Linked DNA regions of Homo sapiens: all the other regions are linked to region 1. Evidence: promoter capture Hi-C in 16 types of primary human blood cells and fetal thymus (Javierre and others, 2016). All regions are on one chromosome and are shown on one strand. Each heading gives the region's core, a stretch centred on a gene start or on the middle of the fragment in contact. The rest is flanking DNA. Distances are from core to core; before and after follow the strand shown.

Evidence for each region. The method cuts DNA at HindIII sites, captures the fragments that hold promoters and counts their contacts. A CHiCAGO score of 5 or more calls a contact.
Region 2: a contact is called between a fragment that was not itself captured here and the fragment with the promoter of H1-1 in region 1, in 1 of 17 cell types (naive CD8 T cells). The highest score is 5.1, in naive CD8 T cells.
Region 3: a fragment that was not itself captured here is called in contact with the fragment with the promoter of H1-1 in region 1 in 5 of 17 cell types (activated CD4 T cells, naive CD4 T cells, fetal thymus and 2 more); the score reaches 13.5 in activated CD4 T cells.
Region 4: a fragment that was not itself captured here is called in contact with the fragment with the promoter of H1-1 in region 1 in 13 of 17 cell types (naive CD8 T cells, fetal thymus, activated CD4 T cells and 10 more); the score reaches 21.6 in naive CD8 T cells.

The regions. Positions count from the first base shown.
Region 1 is chr6:26,016,221-26,019,868 of GRCh38, forward strand. It overlaps H1-1 (H1.1 linker histone, cluster member), which reads right to left and starts at 1,567. Exons shown (of 1, transcript NM_005325.4): 1 at 812-1,567. The coding sequence starts at 1,512. The coding sequence ends at 865. It also overlaps the pseudogene H3P26. RefSeq lists an enhancer at 1-759. The HindIII fragment of the contact is 5,921 bases long and covers 234-3,648 here.
Region 2 is chr6:27,175,228-27,178,875 of GRCh38, forward strand. TRI-AAT5-2 (tRNA-Ile (anticodon AAT) 5-2) reads right to left here and starts at 2,061; the gene lies at 1,988-2,061. RefSeq lists a cis regulatory region at 1,900-2,977, a silencer at 1,967-2,116 and enhancers at 2,319-2,518, 2,709-2,808, 3,159-3,218. The HindIII fragment of the contact is 1,154 bases long and covers 1,201-2,354 here.
Region 3 is chr6:27,156,698-27,160,345 of GRCh38, forward strand. TRH-GTG1-5 (tRNA-His (anticodon GTG) 1-5) reads left to right here and starts at 1,430; the gene lies at 1,430-1,501. RefSeq lists a silencer at 1,541-1,590. The HindIII fragment of the contact is 2,858 bases long and covers 513-3,370 here.
Region 4 is chr6:27,140,159-27,143,806 of GRCh38, forward strand. It overlaps a transcript of H2BC12 not described here. Among named protein-coding and RNA genes, the nearest start is that of H4C9, 2.7 kb to the left of the region's middle. RefSeq lists an enhancer at 1-264. The HindIII fragment of the contact is 4,423 bases long and covers 1-3,648 here.

The sequences.
Region 1 (3,648 bases), core at 317-2,816:
AAATCCTGCACGACTGATGAAACACGATCCAGTTAAGCACAGTAATTTTCAAATATCCAATCAGGGCGCTTCCGTTTCTAAAAACAGAGAAACCGAGCAAGGGATTTTGGGTTGCAGCTCTAAAACTCCAACAAACTAAGCTCCTTTGTCCTGACAAGGGCCTAAACCAAGTCGACAGCCCGTAAGTGCACCCATGGTAAGGCGCTGCACAAAGAAAGCATTTTGCGTTTCAAAGCTTTGTCATGATGGCGCTGCAGAAAGCAAGCGAGCTAGGCCTACCTGGCGGGGCTTTCAGAGGACGCCAACGTGGGCGCCAGCCACGCCAGCAGGGTCACCGTCCTTCCCAAGGACAGACAGCTCGCTAGCCACTCCTGTGGAGAGGGCGTGGTTAAGCCATATATTTTGCCAACTATCCCAGAAGCATTTCTTAGGACCACCCAATTTCGGAAAATGCTACTTTAGCAATATTGACCCCAAAACGCAATATCCCCACTTTAACCTTGTATAATAAAAAGCCTCAAGCCTGGGACTGGGCTTCAACCTTGGTTCAATACGGTTATGACTAATTAGCTTGGAGTCGTGAGACGCGGGACTTCCGGCTACCGAAACCCAGGTGACTTTAAAACTCGATTTTAACTCGGTGCATTTGAATTCACCTTGCTATCTTTGATAGATTGAGTAGTAAATTCTTACTAGATGAGGCTATGTTAAAGTTCTATCGACTCTCCAAGTGATTCTAATATAATTGAGGGCGTGTTGCATTTGCTTGGGGGATTTCATCTGTGTACTACAGCTCTTTTCCTGAAATGCGTAGGTGGCTCTTAAAAGAGCCGTTGGGTTACTAGAAGAAACTTCTAACTGAATTTACTTTTTCTTGGGTGCCGCTTTCTTGGGTTTGGCAGTCTTTGGCTTCGTCACCCTAGCCTTGGCCGCCTTGGGTTTTACAGCCTTAGCTTTAGCAGGGCTTTTAGCTACTTTCTTGGGCTTTACAGTTTTGGGTTTTTTTGGATTCTTGGAGGATTTCCTTGTTGCCGCAGGCTTTTTAGCCTTTTTCGGAGTCTTGACGCTCTTTTTGCTAGCCCCCGTGGCCTTTTTGAGCTTTTTAGATGCACCCGTTGCCTTAGTTTTTGTAGCCACCTTTGAGGCGCCGGGCTTGGTTTCCACGGAGGACGCCTTCTTGTTGAGCTTGAAGGAACCCGAGGCTCCGGTACCCTTTGTCTGCACCAACGTTCCCTTGCTTACCAGGCTCTTAATGCCCAGCTTAATGCGGCTGTTGTTCTTCTCCACGTCGTAGCCTGCGGCCGCCAGCGCCTTTTTAAGAGCTGCCAACGACACACCACCACGCTCCTTAGAGGAGGAAGCAGCCTGCACGATCAGCTCTGACACGGAAGGGCCAGCGGGTTTTTTCTTGGAGGCTGCTGCAGCCTTAGCAGGTTTCTTTGCCTTCTTGCCAGCTAAAGGTTTCTCAGGAGCAGCAGAAGCGGCGGGGGCGGGAGGCACTGTTTCAGACATGGTGACTAACACAGCACACCAAATAAAGTGGTATAAACCTGACGAAGCAGGATGCGAAAAAAAGGCCCCAACGCAGCCTATTTATAGGGTGGGACTGCGCCGTGATTGGTGCCCGTCAGTGCCCGCCCCTCGCGCCCTAGCGCCCCCTGCGCGCTGCCGAGGGTTTCGCCCAGTCTCAGAAGGCAGCTGGGGGCCTCTAGGGCCTATGGTCCTGCTCCCCTCAACGCAAGCAAACACACAGAAAAAGCCGCTCTGGTTGCCTCATTGTGAAGGAAATTGTAGGCAGACTGCCGCCCAGTAACATCAGAGGGTACCGCTTCTCTCTCAAAAAGCAGCTCTTTTTTAGGGAGTAGGTTGAGAGGGGGCGGTTTACAAATGCAGTGCCACAAGCATCCGAGGAGTTTTATTAGAAATTTTTAGAGGTCCGTTGCCAGAGATGTTAGTTTTTAATTTGCAAGAAATGTAAAATACAGTGTTTTGAATAGTTGCGGAGGGAGAGAAAAGTGCGAGTTTTAGGCCGTGTTAGGGCCAGTTGTCATCAACTCTATTACATTTTCTGGCAATGTTTTAGAGCGATGTGTCTCGCGAATACCTTTCACGTCAAACAAGAATGAATCGTAGACAACACCAGAATTCACAAACGCTGCAATTAATACTCAAACTGCAAGTGTGGAAACGTTTCTGCACTTGCAACTTATTTCCACAGTCCAATGTGGGATGCACTTCAGGAATTTCCAATGCCCTTTTCATCCATACAACATGCCCCAAATTGGTATTAAGGTTTACAACCTGTGTTCCATGTCAGCACACGCAATCAGCGCACCATGACATGGTCAACTCATTCTTTTATTCAACAAATATTTATGGGCCTCACAAGCCTGCGAAAGGCGTTAAATGCTGGGTCCACGAAACCGGTTCCCTGACAGGCATTCTGCTGGGGAGTTAAGTCCACTTAGTGTGAAAGCAAACACGGGTGATAAATGCAAGCACACCCTGGGGATAAGATTTTATGGTAACAACCCTTTAACTTGTTTGTGGCTGTTAAGTGCATTTCAAAGTATCAATAAGCTAAAACGATCTCACATTGCCAATCAGAGACTCAGCTAATGGGAGAATAAAAAACTATTAAATCGACATCCACTTCTACAATCCTATTCTGGATAACCCCCTAGCACAGCACAGCAGAGAGTGAGGTAATGCGGTCTTATTTCCGCTCCTGCTGTGGTAGTTTTCAAATAAGTCCGAACCATGCTAAGTAACCTGAGCTTTTCCCCTTTTTGTTCAAACAACGTGCCAACCAAATAATGGAGTGGTCCCAGATAAGTATTGTACCCATCTTCTGCACCAGTGCTTCCTACGTCCCATTTTATTGAGAAGGCATGCATTCAAATATTTCACGTAATTTCTAAAAATTTGGAAAATAACGGTTGGAAACTCTACATCTTGGTTTGACGGCTAGTCAGTTATGAAACACAGGTATACAAAATTGGAAGATTTTTGTAAGTAAACCCTTTGTGAAAGATATAAACCTTTCTTAGTGTAATAAGCGAGGTATCTGAAAAAACGCAACTTTTGAAAAGGAAATACTCCTAATTATCTGATTCAGGAGTTTCCACTTTAAATAATGGGTTCTGCCTCCCTTTTTTCTATTGGGTTAAACTGGTTTCAAATAAAATGGGAACGCTCCATGCAAATGAAGGATGATAGATCTGCTTTCTAAATGGCTGTTCAAGAAAATAGCCTAAACCAATCAAAAGATAGAATGTGGCCTGTCTCTTGTGAATTTAAAAAGGTCACAATCCACTTTTCAGTGTTTTGAGATTTTCAAAATGATTGCATTAGCTCTTGGCAATGCTAAATTATGTTCCTTGCGAACCACTATCCAGTTTCTCTTGGGCCAAGTCCACCTCCTGCTCCGCAAGAGGAACAACTCCCAGCTGGTGGTACCTGGCGGCAGTGCTGGAGAAACGCCATTTTGTGACTGGCAGAGTACACCTAGGCTTTAGAAAACAAAAGCTGCAGAACGCTGCAAGTTTAGGATTCAAAGAGCATAATCAAGAGAAAGACGTCTCATAGAAAATGTTTCTGAGTAATAGTGTAATCCTACTATGTTTGAGATGCTTTGTAGATTTCAAT
Region 2 (3,648 bases), core at 528-3,027, 1.2 Mb after region 1:
TCTAGCAGATGCCTGAGTTCTCTGGCTGGTGGCTCCCTTCGTTTTCAAAGTCAGCAACTACCTGTGGAATCCTTCTTATACTTAAATCTGTATATATCATCTAATATACAATGGACTAAGTAGTAGGTACTCTTCATTAATTTATTCTAAAGAAATCTTTTTCAGTCGCTGACTTTGAGCTACTTACTGTTTTTGACGTGAAAAATCACAGCACTGAGCAAAACAGAGGGAGCCCCTTCCCTTTGTGATTCGCCCACTATGTCCTTGGCGCTGTTTTTGAGCCATTATTTACCTCATTATTTATCAATATTGTTAATGTCATTTTCATAGCAACCCATGTTTTAAAATAAGAGAAGGGTAAAAATATGTTGGGAGGATGAAGAGTGAAGGAAGAAATGTAAATGAGACACGTGCCAGGCACACGGGGACCCAGTGACCAGACTCCAAGAAAGCGCAGGACAGGGCTGGGCGCGGTGGCTCACGCCTGTAATCCCAGCACTTTGGGAGGCCGAGGCGGGCGGATCACGAGGTCAGGAGATCGAGACCATCCCGGCTAAAACGGTGAAACCCCGTCTCTACTAAAAATACAAAAAATTAGCCGGGCGTAGTGGCGGGCGCCTGTAGTCCCAGCTACTTGGGAGGCTGAGGCAGGAGAATGGCGTGAACCCGGGAGGCGGAGCTTGCAGTGAGCCGAGATTGCGCCACTGCACTCCAGCCTGGGCGACAGAGCGAGACTCCGTCTCAAAAAAAAAAAAAAAAAAGAAAAAGAAAAAAAGAAAAAAAAAAAGAAAGCGCAGGACAGAAAGAGCGAGGTGCTAAGACTTAGAGTGGACCCAGAGGCTCTGGCCCTCCTGTCTCCCACCACGCACTCCATTTTTGTCACATTTCAAACCTATCGCTTTTACGATATATGTTCAAAAATTGTTTAATGAACTGTAAATGGCTTGGTAAGGGCCGCATCGTAAATGGCTTGGTATGGGCCACATCGAGAACAGCTGTCAAATATAAGCCTAAGGCTAACCACGGATCTATTTTAACACTGAGCAGTTGTGGCTGAGTGTCTGGAGCTTGGCAGAAAGCAACGTCACAAGTCTGGCTTTTTCCCACGTAGACTGAACCCTCGCCCTCAAAGCTACAAACACAACAATTTAACCAACTGAGTGATCAACTAGGAGAAGAATCAATATGATCTCTTTCAAAAGCTTAAAATATGTCAAAATAGTATTATCTCAGAAAGTTTTTTTTTCCCAAAATAATACAAGACATTATCGAATTCTTATTTAACCCTTTTCTAAAATCACCCACCCACCTCATTGAATTTCCTTTAAAAAATCTTCATCCTGGCCGGGCGCGATGGCTCATGCCTGTAATCTCAGCACTTTGGGAGGCCAAGGCAGGCGGATCACCTGAGGTCAGGAGTTCAAGACTAGCCTGGCCAACATGGTGAAACTCCGTCTCTACTGAAAATACAAAAATTACCCAGGCATCGTGGCACACGCCTGTAATCCCAGCTACTTGGGAGGCTGAGGCAGAAGAATTGCTTAAACCTGGGAGGCGGAGGTTGCAGCGAGCCAAGATCGCGCCGCTGCACTCCAGCCTGGGCGTCAGAGCAAGACTCTGTCTCAAAAACAAACAAAACAAACAAATAAGAAAAACCTTTTCATCCTAACTCGTATATTATTTCTTCAAAAGAATAAAAAACGTGCAAATCTAATGCTTGTCTAGCTATTGCGACCACATTTACAAATGGATAGGCAGCGCTCCGGAGTTGGATGTAAGACGGTAGTATACAATCCAGGTGTGGTCGATTTAAGAAAAAAAAAAAAGAAAAAAGAAAAAAATTCCTGTCTAGCTAGTGCAACTACATTTATAAATGGATAGGCGAGGCTACGGAGTTCGATGTAAAACCGAAGTTTACAAGCGAGGTGTGGTCGGTGTAAAATAAAAACGAAAAAGAAGAAAAAAAAAAAAAACAAACCCACGGAAGTGGCCCGTACGGGGATCGAACCCGCGACCTTGGCGTTATTAGCACCACGCTCTAACCAACTGAGCTAACCGGCCTCCTTGGTGGGAGGGTCTTTTCTTATGTTTATTTAAATCATACCTGATCCATGCCCGCTGAATTTTTTTTTTTTTGTAATAGAAGCGTTACTTTCCCTTTTATTAATAAAATATATTTTTTTTTAAGAAAAGGAGAATTCCTCACTGTAGGCACAGGAAAACCATGCTGTTTCAGGGAAAACAATCTCAAACCACTGATTCTGACTGGAGAAAACTCAGATTCAACGACCCCAAGCAGGGCTTCCTTCCCCTCACCAGGTGAAGGACTCAGAACAAACCAAAAAGCAGCTCCAAGCTTGCGATCGCGGCCAGTTCCTCACGGAACCAACCGCAGAGCCGCCGCAGGTTCGCAGGATCGGAGGGTTCGGAGGACTCGGAGGGTGCGGATTCCTCTCTGCTCCTTGAGACCATTCCAGCCAGGTGGGCTCTTAGGCCTGGGAACCTGGGAAAGTGCACTGTCTCGCCTCCTGGCCTCGCGGTGGTTCCGCAGTCACCAGGACCCGAAATTCACAGCTGTGCGTCCTAAGCTTGCAGCTCCACAAACGATAAAATCAGACTTGGCCCTGCAGTGCCGGGCACCGGGCCCTTGGTGATGCTCGAGTGCCGGGCTGGCATCGGCGTAAATGAAAGGACCAGCGGGACGGCTCCTTTCAAGAGTCTCTGACTCCTTCCGTCCCGGGAAGACCAAGACACCCACATCTAAGACAAGGGAAGTCACCATTATCTACACCAATGATAAACGCCGGTATCTGGGAGGAACTGAGCCCAGGACCGGGTCAGGCAACTCAGAGTGTTGGGACAACTAAGTCCCTCTTCAAAGACTCAACTTTCTTGTCATAAGTTGCAAAAGTTGTACGTCAATCCTGCCTGCCCCCCGCCCCCCACCACACACATACACTCCTTTTTTTCGCAAATCCAGGGTTTACCCTATTTGCCAAAGTTTAAGTCTTAGCCAATCGGGATCAGCTTAGATTGTGCGGTCCAACCCCAGCCAATAGGGGAAGGACACAGAAACAGGAACTGCGTTAGGATTAAAAACTCCTTACCTCCTTTGTTTGGTGTGCTCTTGCAATTGTAACAGGCAAGGAGCACCCTTCTGCAGAAGTAAAGATGCCTTGCTGAGGAATTTTCTAAGTGAGGGTTTCTTTTGGCTACACCAAGCACTTGTTTCCAGTAAATCTTAGGGACTCGTCCGGGATCCCATTCTCCTTCGGGAGGGGCTAGCGATTATCTTTCATGGGGAGACGCGTCCCATTGCCTCGTGGTGGCCCCAGGAGCGGAGGATCGAGTCCCGCCCGAAGTGACGAATAAATCCGGACTCTCAGCAACGCGGACAGTAGGGAGGATCCTTAAGAATTCTGTGAGACCAGCTTGGTCAATACGGTGAAACTCCGTTTCTACTAAAAATACAAAAATTAACCGGGCGTGGTGGTGCGCGCCCTTAGTCCCAGCTACTTGGGAGGCTGAGGCAGGAAAATCACTTGAACCCGGGAGGCAGAAGTTGCAGTAAGCCGAGATCATGCCACTGCACTCCAGCCTAGGCAACAGAGCGAGACTCCGTCTCAAAAAAAAAAAAAAAAAGAATTC
Region 3 (3,648 bases), core at 692-3,191, 1.1 Mb after region 1:
TGATGGCTCACGCCTGTAATCCCAGCACTTTGGGAGCCCGAGGCGGGTGGATCACTTGAAGTCAGGAGTTATAGATCAGCCTGGCCAACATGGTGAAACCCCCTCTCTAATAAAAATACAAAAATTAGCCCTGCGTAGTAGCTTACGCCTGTAATCCCAGCTACTCGGGAGGCTGAGGCAGGAGAATCGCTTGAACCCGGGAGGTGGAGGTTGCAATGAGTCGAGATTGTGTCATTGCCCTCCAGCCTGGGCAACAGAGCGAGACTCTGAGAAAAAAAAAAAGAAGAAGAAAGAGAAAGAAAGAAAGAAAAGGAAGGAAGGAAGAAAGAGAATGAGAGAGAGAGAAAGAAAGAAGGAAGGAAAGAAGAAAAGAAAAGAAAGAGAGAGGGAAGGAGGGAGGGAGAGAGGAAGGAAGGAAGGAGGGAAAGAAGGGAGGGAAGGAAAAAAAAAAAACCAAGGAACCATGTGTTGCGTGGAGACGGGAGGTCAAGAAAAGCTTCCTTGATTTGAAAAGCTTTCTTGAGTTGAAGCTGAAGCATTAAACAAATTTAACCAGGTAAAGAGAAGAGGCCGGGCGCGGTGGCTCACTCCTGTAATCCTAGCGCTTTGGGAAGCCGAGAGGGGCGGATCAGTTGAGTTCAGGAGTTTAAGACCAGAATGATTTTACAGAAAGAAAATCATTTGGTATCAAGGGGAAAACACGACCAGGACCTTGACTCTAGAGGCTACGTTCCTAAAACAGCAAGCGGGGCAGGAGGGAAGTCCCACGGAGCTTTGGAGCCACAGGAGAGGCACTTTTATCTCCCTCTTCTGGCAAACTAGGTATGAAAGGGAGAAAGAAATTTCACTCTGAGGTGCGAGCGCCGCCGGACATTTCCTGACGGCTCAGGTGGGCAGGCTGAGTGCGCGAGCGCCTCACTGGCTTCTCATAGGTACCTGGGTCAGGACGAAGCCACATAGTTCCTCGTGATGAGAAACTCACTTCTGGCACCTGTCGAGATGCCAGATTCCATGCCAAGCCCCCGAAGATTCTGACTAGTTTGGCAAAAAATGGGATCTGGCAGGTCCACTTCAAAGCAGCGCCCTCTTCCTTTTGTTGCCAAAGATCTGAGGACCACACTGCTAAACTGAGCAAGAAACATGCGTGGGTTGGAGATAGAAGTGAGAATAATGAGTTTACAAGCACAGTATTACCAACCCCCAAAAACAACCACCACGCTGGGAAAATTCCATATAATGAAACTTAATGTGTTACCTTTGGCTTCTTTGCCATAAGCAAAATATTGGGGACGGGGAGTGGATAAGGAAGTAAACTGGGTAGGTGTGTAAATAAGGACGAAAGACTGCACCATTCTTTAGATGACAAAAACAGACGTTTCTGGGAAATAAGCAAAGGAAGAGCCCCACAAGCAGCGGCCTCTGGTGGCGTGCCGTGATCGTATAGTGGTTAGTACTCTGCGTTGTGGCCGCAGCAACCTCGGTTCGAATCCGAGTCACGGCAGTACCTTGATGTCGCCTCAATTTCTCAACGTACTGAGCAGTACCTTGACGTCGCCTCAATTTTTCAACATACTGGAGTGGAGACAGTCTCGGAAAAACCCTTGCAAAATTGAATTGACTTACGATCTAATCTGTACACAAAAAACACTAGTATTCATCATGGTGCCCCAACCAGTCAGCCAAGCAGAGAGTGTCTACGCTTGTTGCCTTGTCTTTTTTTTCCCCTCTCCAAAGATTCTCTTCCCAACCCTACCCAAGCCCTACAGTCTTGTTGGCATTGGCTGTATGTGAAGAAACTGAGGTAATTTTTTTTTAATGGAAAACTTTTACTTTCAAACACTGGTAGGCATGAGGAAAGGACTGTTCAAAAGGGGATCCAGGTTTGTTGTGGAGATCTTTCTTAAAACACAAAAGACAAATTATTAATCACGCGTTTCTAAGTATCCTAGCTGGACCAATGCTGAAAAACTGTAACCTTTGATCATCTGGAGAAAATTAAAGAAATTTGAGTAATTGAAGGAATTTGGGTGGGGGGGAATAATGGCCCAGAAGAACAGCCCCCATTTCTAGCCCGTTCAGTTTCTAGAATGAGTTCTAAAGAGCCAAGTAGACTGGGTGAGGCGGGAGTGGAGGAGAGCTGATCTGAGATACGGAGGTGGCTGGAAAGAAGTAGTTGGTGCTACCTAGGACCAGTAGGAGGTGGCTGGAGACAGGCAGATCCCCAGAGGCGCTTCCATGAGCCCAGTTCTAGTTAGTAGCACAGCACTCTGAGAACACATTAATGGCACTTCGTCCCTCCTGGCCCTGGTGGAAGGTTAGTATTCAAACAGGTGTGGTGGCTCATGCCTATAATCCCAGCACTTTGGGAGGCCGAGGCGGGCAGATCACCTGAGGTCGGGAGTTCGAGACCAGCATGGCCAACATGGTGAAACCCCGTCTCTACTAAAAATACAAAAATTAGCTTGGCATAGTGGCATAGGCCTGTAGTCCCAGCTATTCGGAAGGCTAAGGCACGAGAATTGCCTGAACCCAGGCAGTGGAAGTTGCAGTAAGCCAAGATCACACCACTGCACTCCAGCCTGAGTGACAGAGTAAGACTCGGTCTCAAAAAAAAAGAATACTCATACTTTTAGCAACTTATCAAAAATTTCAGCAAAAGAGATTTGTTCTTTCCTTCTTGGGGCTAAAATAGCCCCCATTTCTTCTCCAACTGTCCATCCAGCTGACATGGATTCTGAAACTCAGAGATATTGTAATTGAGCTGAGCTGCCTTATACTGTAGGATATCATCTCTCCAACAGGTCAGGTTCTAGGCCTCTTCTCAGTAATTTAATAGCATTTGTAGTGGTTATTCATGTTCACTTGTATCACATTCTACTTCAATTTTCTTTTTAGTCTATTTTATCTTGACTCAGTCTTACAAGAGTGAAGACAGGGATCAAGTATGTATTGACCCTAAAGGATCAGTTCTTGTCAATTATTTTGCCACAAGTGAATGATAAAACTGCTAAAGCAATAAACATTTTGATCTTGCAATTCTCCAGAACACATTTTCTCAGATCTTACTGGCCTGAGTAGCAGAAATCTATGGACTCTGACTCAGAGGCTATCTCTTAGTGAGAGAGCTAGGGTCCTAGATCTATTACAGAATAAAATTGTAGTGACAAGTGAGTAATAGGGCTCAATAAAACCCATGCTGTATGATTTGCTCGAAAAGTAGAGAGCTTGCTTGGCGTGTACCATATGATACTCAGTGCAAAGCACATGTTTATCTTAGAGGTGTGAAGTTCTCTGGTTCACAATAATGTTTTGCAGCTTTGAGTGAGCATTGCTAGAAATCTGGTATAAACAGGGGAATTGTGAGATTAAAAGCTTGCATTTTATGAATGCACTAATATTGGTATGGAAGTATCTTACACAGTCTGCCAACCACATTTTCAGAAAGAAAACTGTTTTACTCTACCTATGGCATTCATGGTCTTGAAATGACTTTTTAATATTTCTATGTTTTATCATTCTCATCTCTCCATGGAAATTAATGAAAGTTACCACCTTCTAAGATTGTTCTAAAGATTTAAGGGTGGTAAATGCATGATGGCACTAGCTCAGTAAGGTACAAACAAACAAACAAAATAATAAAATAAGCCA
Region 4 (3,648 bases), core at 477-2,976, 1.1 Mb after region 1:
TCCTTTATATGTTTGCCTTTTAAATACTGGAATATATCAAGTATACAAAATGCGCTGGTGACCACACCACTTATTCAAGTGCATCTAAAATCCTTATGTCCCTTTCTCAGTAGCACAGCCCTCCCTTTTTCCTATCTAGAATTAACTAATATTCTAGGATAAACTGATATTCTAAATTTGTTTACTGTTCCCACGCGTTTTAACTTTAGATGCACATACCCCTAATCTATTTTAATCGTCATGAATTTTTACATTTGCTCTTGAAATATATCCGTGTTGAAATGTGCAGTTCTAGGTTATTTTTACCATTAATCTAGTTTTCTAATGTGTCAGTAAATACTTTATTCATTTCTCTGTTGATTTTTTTTCCTCATTACAAAACAGCACTGTATACAGCTGTGCATTTTCTGGTTACATGGAAGTGGAATTATTTGGTAAATGTGCATATTCAACATGAATAAAAATGAACAATTTGCTTTCCAGGGTAGTATTTTAAATTTATACTCCCATATTCCACCAGCAGTGCTTGAGAGTTATTGTTTATCAGCATTTCCTAATGTGAAATCGGAGTTTTTCTAAATGAGATTTTTGGCTATTTGGAGATTTTCCCGCTTTCCTCGGAATGGTCTATTCAGATTCTCTACAGTTTTTATTTTATGAGATTTGATTTGTAAATATTCTTTATATATTTGAGTTTTAACTTTTTGTCAGTATGTGACAAATATATTCTGTCACCTTGTGGGTTTGTTTTTAACTGTTCGTGATATCTTTGGATGTGCAAAATTTTAATAATGTTGGATTTATATTTTTTATAGTTTTTGAATGCTGCCTTTTCATAAAGGAGTTATCTGACTTCCACTTTCCCCAGGAGCTACAGGCATCAATCTGGGGGAAAAAAAAAAAACAAAAAACATTTAGGCGGCTTATGTCCTGATTTGGCTTGAATTGGATAGTAAGGCTTTTCTGAAATCGCTGTAAGAGTAGCATCAAGAGCGAGCTAAGGGAAGACCTGATAAAAGATTGATCTTACTTTCTAAATAAGCAATGATTAACAATACCTAAAATTTTCAAAGTATTACAAAAGGGACAAAAGAAAGGGTGAAAGAGGAAAGTAATGCCTAAGATACACTGAAAGTTTGTTGAAAATTGTTAAGTGCTTTACATGGATTATCTCGTATCTCATATTCTTGTGAGATAGATTTTATTACTCTTATTTTAAAATGGCAAAAGAGGCCAAATCAAATAACCAATTCACAAATGTTAGATTTTATGACCCAAACTTGTCTTTCTTTAATTTTTATTATTCCAGGAGCATAGATTCAAATTGCCCCGAACATACACTCACTCAAACCTGTAATATTCTTAATCACACTCTCTTAGTAGATAGATAAGCCATCACAGAGAGTAGTAGTGGTGCTAGTCCTATAATGAAGAATTTGGGGAAATGTGTCAGGACAGATGCAAAACCTGCTTGTCACTTAATCCCAATTGGAATGAATTATTTTCATGTGTCAGTTTGTGGGCCTGAGAAAGTCGTTTTTATTTTGTGTCTATATAGTTATGTTATTGTTAAATCTGCAGCAATGTAACACGTCCTTCCCTGTCATTTTTCATGTTCCAAGCCCAATGGATTAAACACTCCCTTAGGAAAAACCGTAGTAGGTGGTGATGCCAGAAGGAATTGTAATCCTTTGCATAGTGCCCTAGTGGGTTTTAGGTCAAGTTCTGCTCATTGAGTGTCTTATGGTATAGCACTAGCCATGCATGGAGTTTGAGCACTTACAATGTGGCATGTGACTGAGGGAGTAAGTGTTTAATTATATCTTAATTAGTTTACTTTTAAAAACTGGTGCTGGATTCAATTAGATAGCATTCAAGTATACTTGGAACACCTTAGGGACATGAATCAGAATCATCTTATTCTAATTACAGATCAAGAATTCCCCACGAAAATTTATTTTGATATACCATAAAAGTGTAAAATACACACCAGATTTTGAAGATTTGAAATGAAAAAAGAATACAAGATATTTAATACATTCTGTATTGACTATATGCTGAAACTATATTTTTGATATATTCTGTCAAATAGGATACACTATTAAAATTAACTTTTTTAACTTTTTTTTTGGAGACGAACTCTCGCTTTCGTCCCCCAGGCTGGAGTACAATGGTGTGATCTCGGCTCACTGCAACCTCCGCCTCCCGGGTTCAAGCAATTCTCCTGCCTCCGCCTCCCAAGTAGCTGGGATTACAGGTGCGTACTACCACGCCAGGCTAATTTTTTTGTATTTTAAGTAGAGACATGTTGGCCAGGCTGGTCTTGAACTCCTGACCTCAGGTCATCCGCCTGCCTCGGCCTCCCAAAGTGCCGGGATTACAGGCTTGAGCCACTGTGCCCAGACAATTTTTTTTAACTTTTAAAAATGGTTACTGGAAAGATAAGTACATGTATGACGTATTACATTCCCCCCCTCCTTTTTTTTTTTTTTTTTTTTGAGACAGTCTCGCTCTGTCGCCCAGGTTCGAGTGCAGTGGCACAATTTTGGCTCACTGCAACCTCAGCCTCCCGGGTTCAAGCCATTCTCCTGCCTCAGCCTCCCAAGCAGCTGGGACTACACTCATGTGAAACCATGCCCAACTAATTTTTGTATTTTTAGCAGAGACGGGGTTTCACCATACTGGCCAGGCAGGTCTCAAACTCCTGATCTTGTGATCCACCCACCTCGGCCTCCCAAAGTGCTGGGATTACAGGCATGAGCCATCGCACGTGGCCACATTATATTTCTATTTGAGTAGTGTCTTAAGAGTAACAAACTGGCTTTCAGACACATACAATAAAGACAAAAAAATCCTAGTTCAATAAAGAATGAGAAAGTAGGATAAAGCAAATGAACAAATTTCCCAGGCCCAGTGCGGTGGCTCACTGGCCCGGTTCACGCCAGCACTTTGGGAGGCCAAGGCAGGTGGATCACCTTAAGTCAGGAGTTCAGGACCAGCCTGGCCAACATGGTGAAATCCCATCTCTACTAAAAATATAAAAACTAGCCAGGCATGGTGGTGGGCACCTGTAATCCCAGCTACTCAGGAGGCTGAGGCAGGATAATTGCTTGAACAAAGGAGACAGAGGTTGCAGTGAGCTGACACAGTGCCACTGCACTCCAGCCTTGGCGACAGAGTAAGACTGTCTCAAAAAAAAGAAAAAAATTTCCTTTCCTTCACTTATATTCCTGAAGATAGAGATAAGGTCTTCTCCCAACTGTACTTATACCTCAGGTAATATCAAGAAAGTAGTGACATGATATATTACAATTCATAGGCATTGAGTTGTGAGATTTGCTCCTTTGTATTAAGCACTTGAAGAATTACTAAGTTTTTCCAGCTCATCTAGGGTAGAAAGCCATGCCATTTTCTTAGGTCCACTGACCTCTTTACTTCCAACTTCTAGACTTAAAGATACTAGATAACAGCAGAGACCAAACATATGATTGCCAAGTCCCTAACCACAGTTAAATAAACCTCCACTTTTCAATCCCAGAGCTACTCTCAGTTTCCCAAAGGATGGGAGAATCTGAAGCAGGCAATTATTCTGTGCAAGCGTTCTTCAGCAGGCTGTAACAATTGCTAGATTGAATTGCTGTGGTCCAG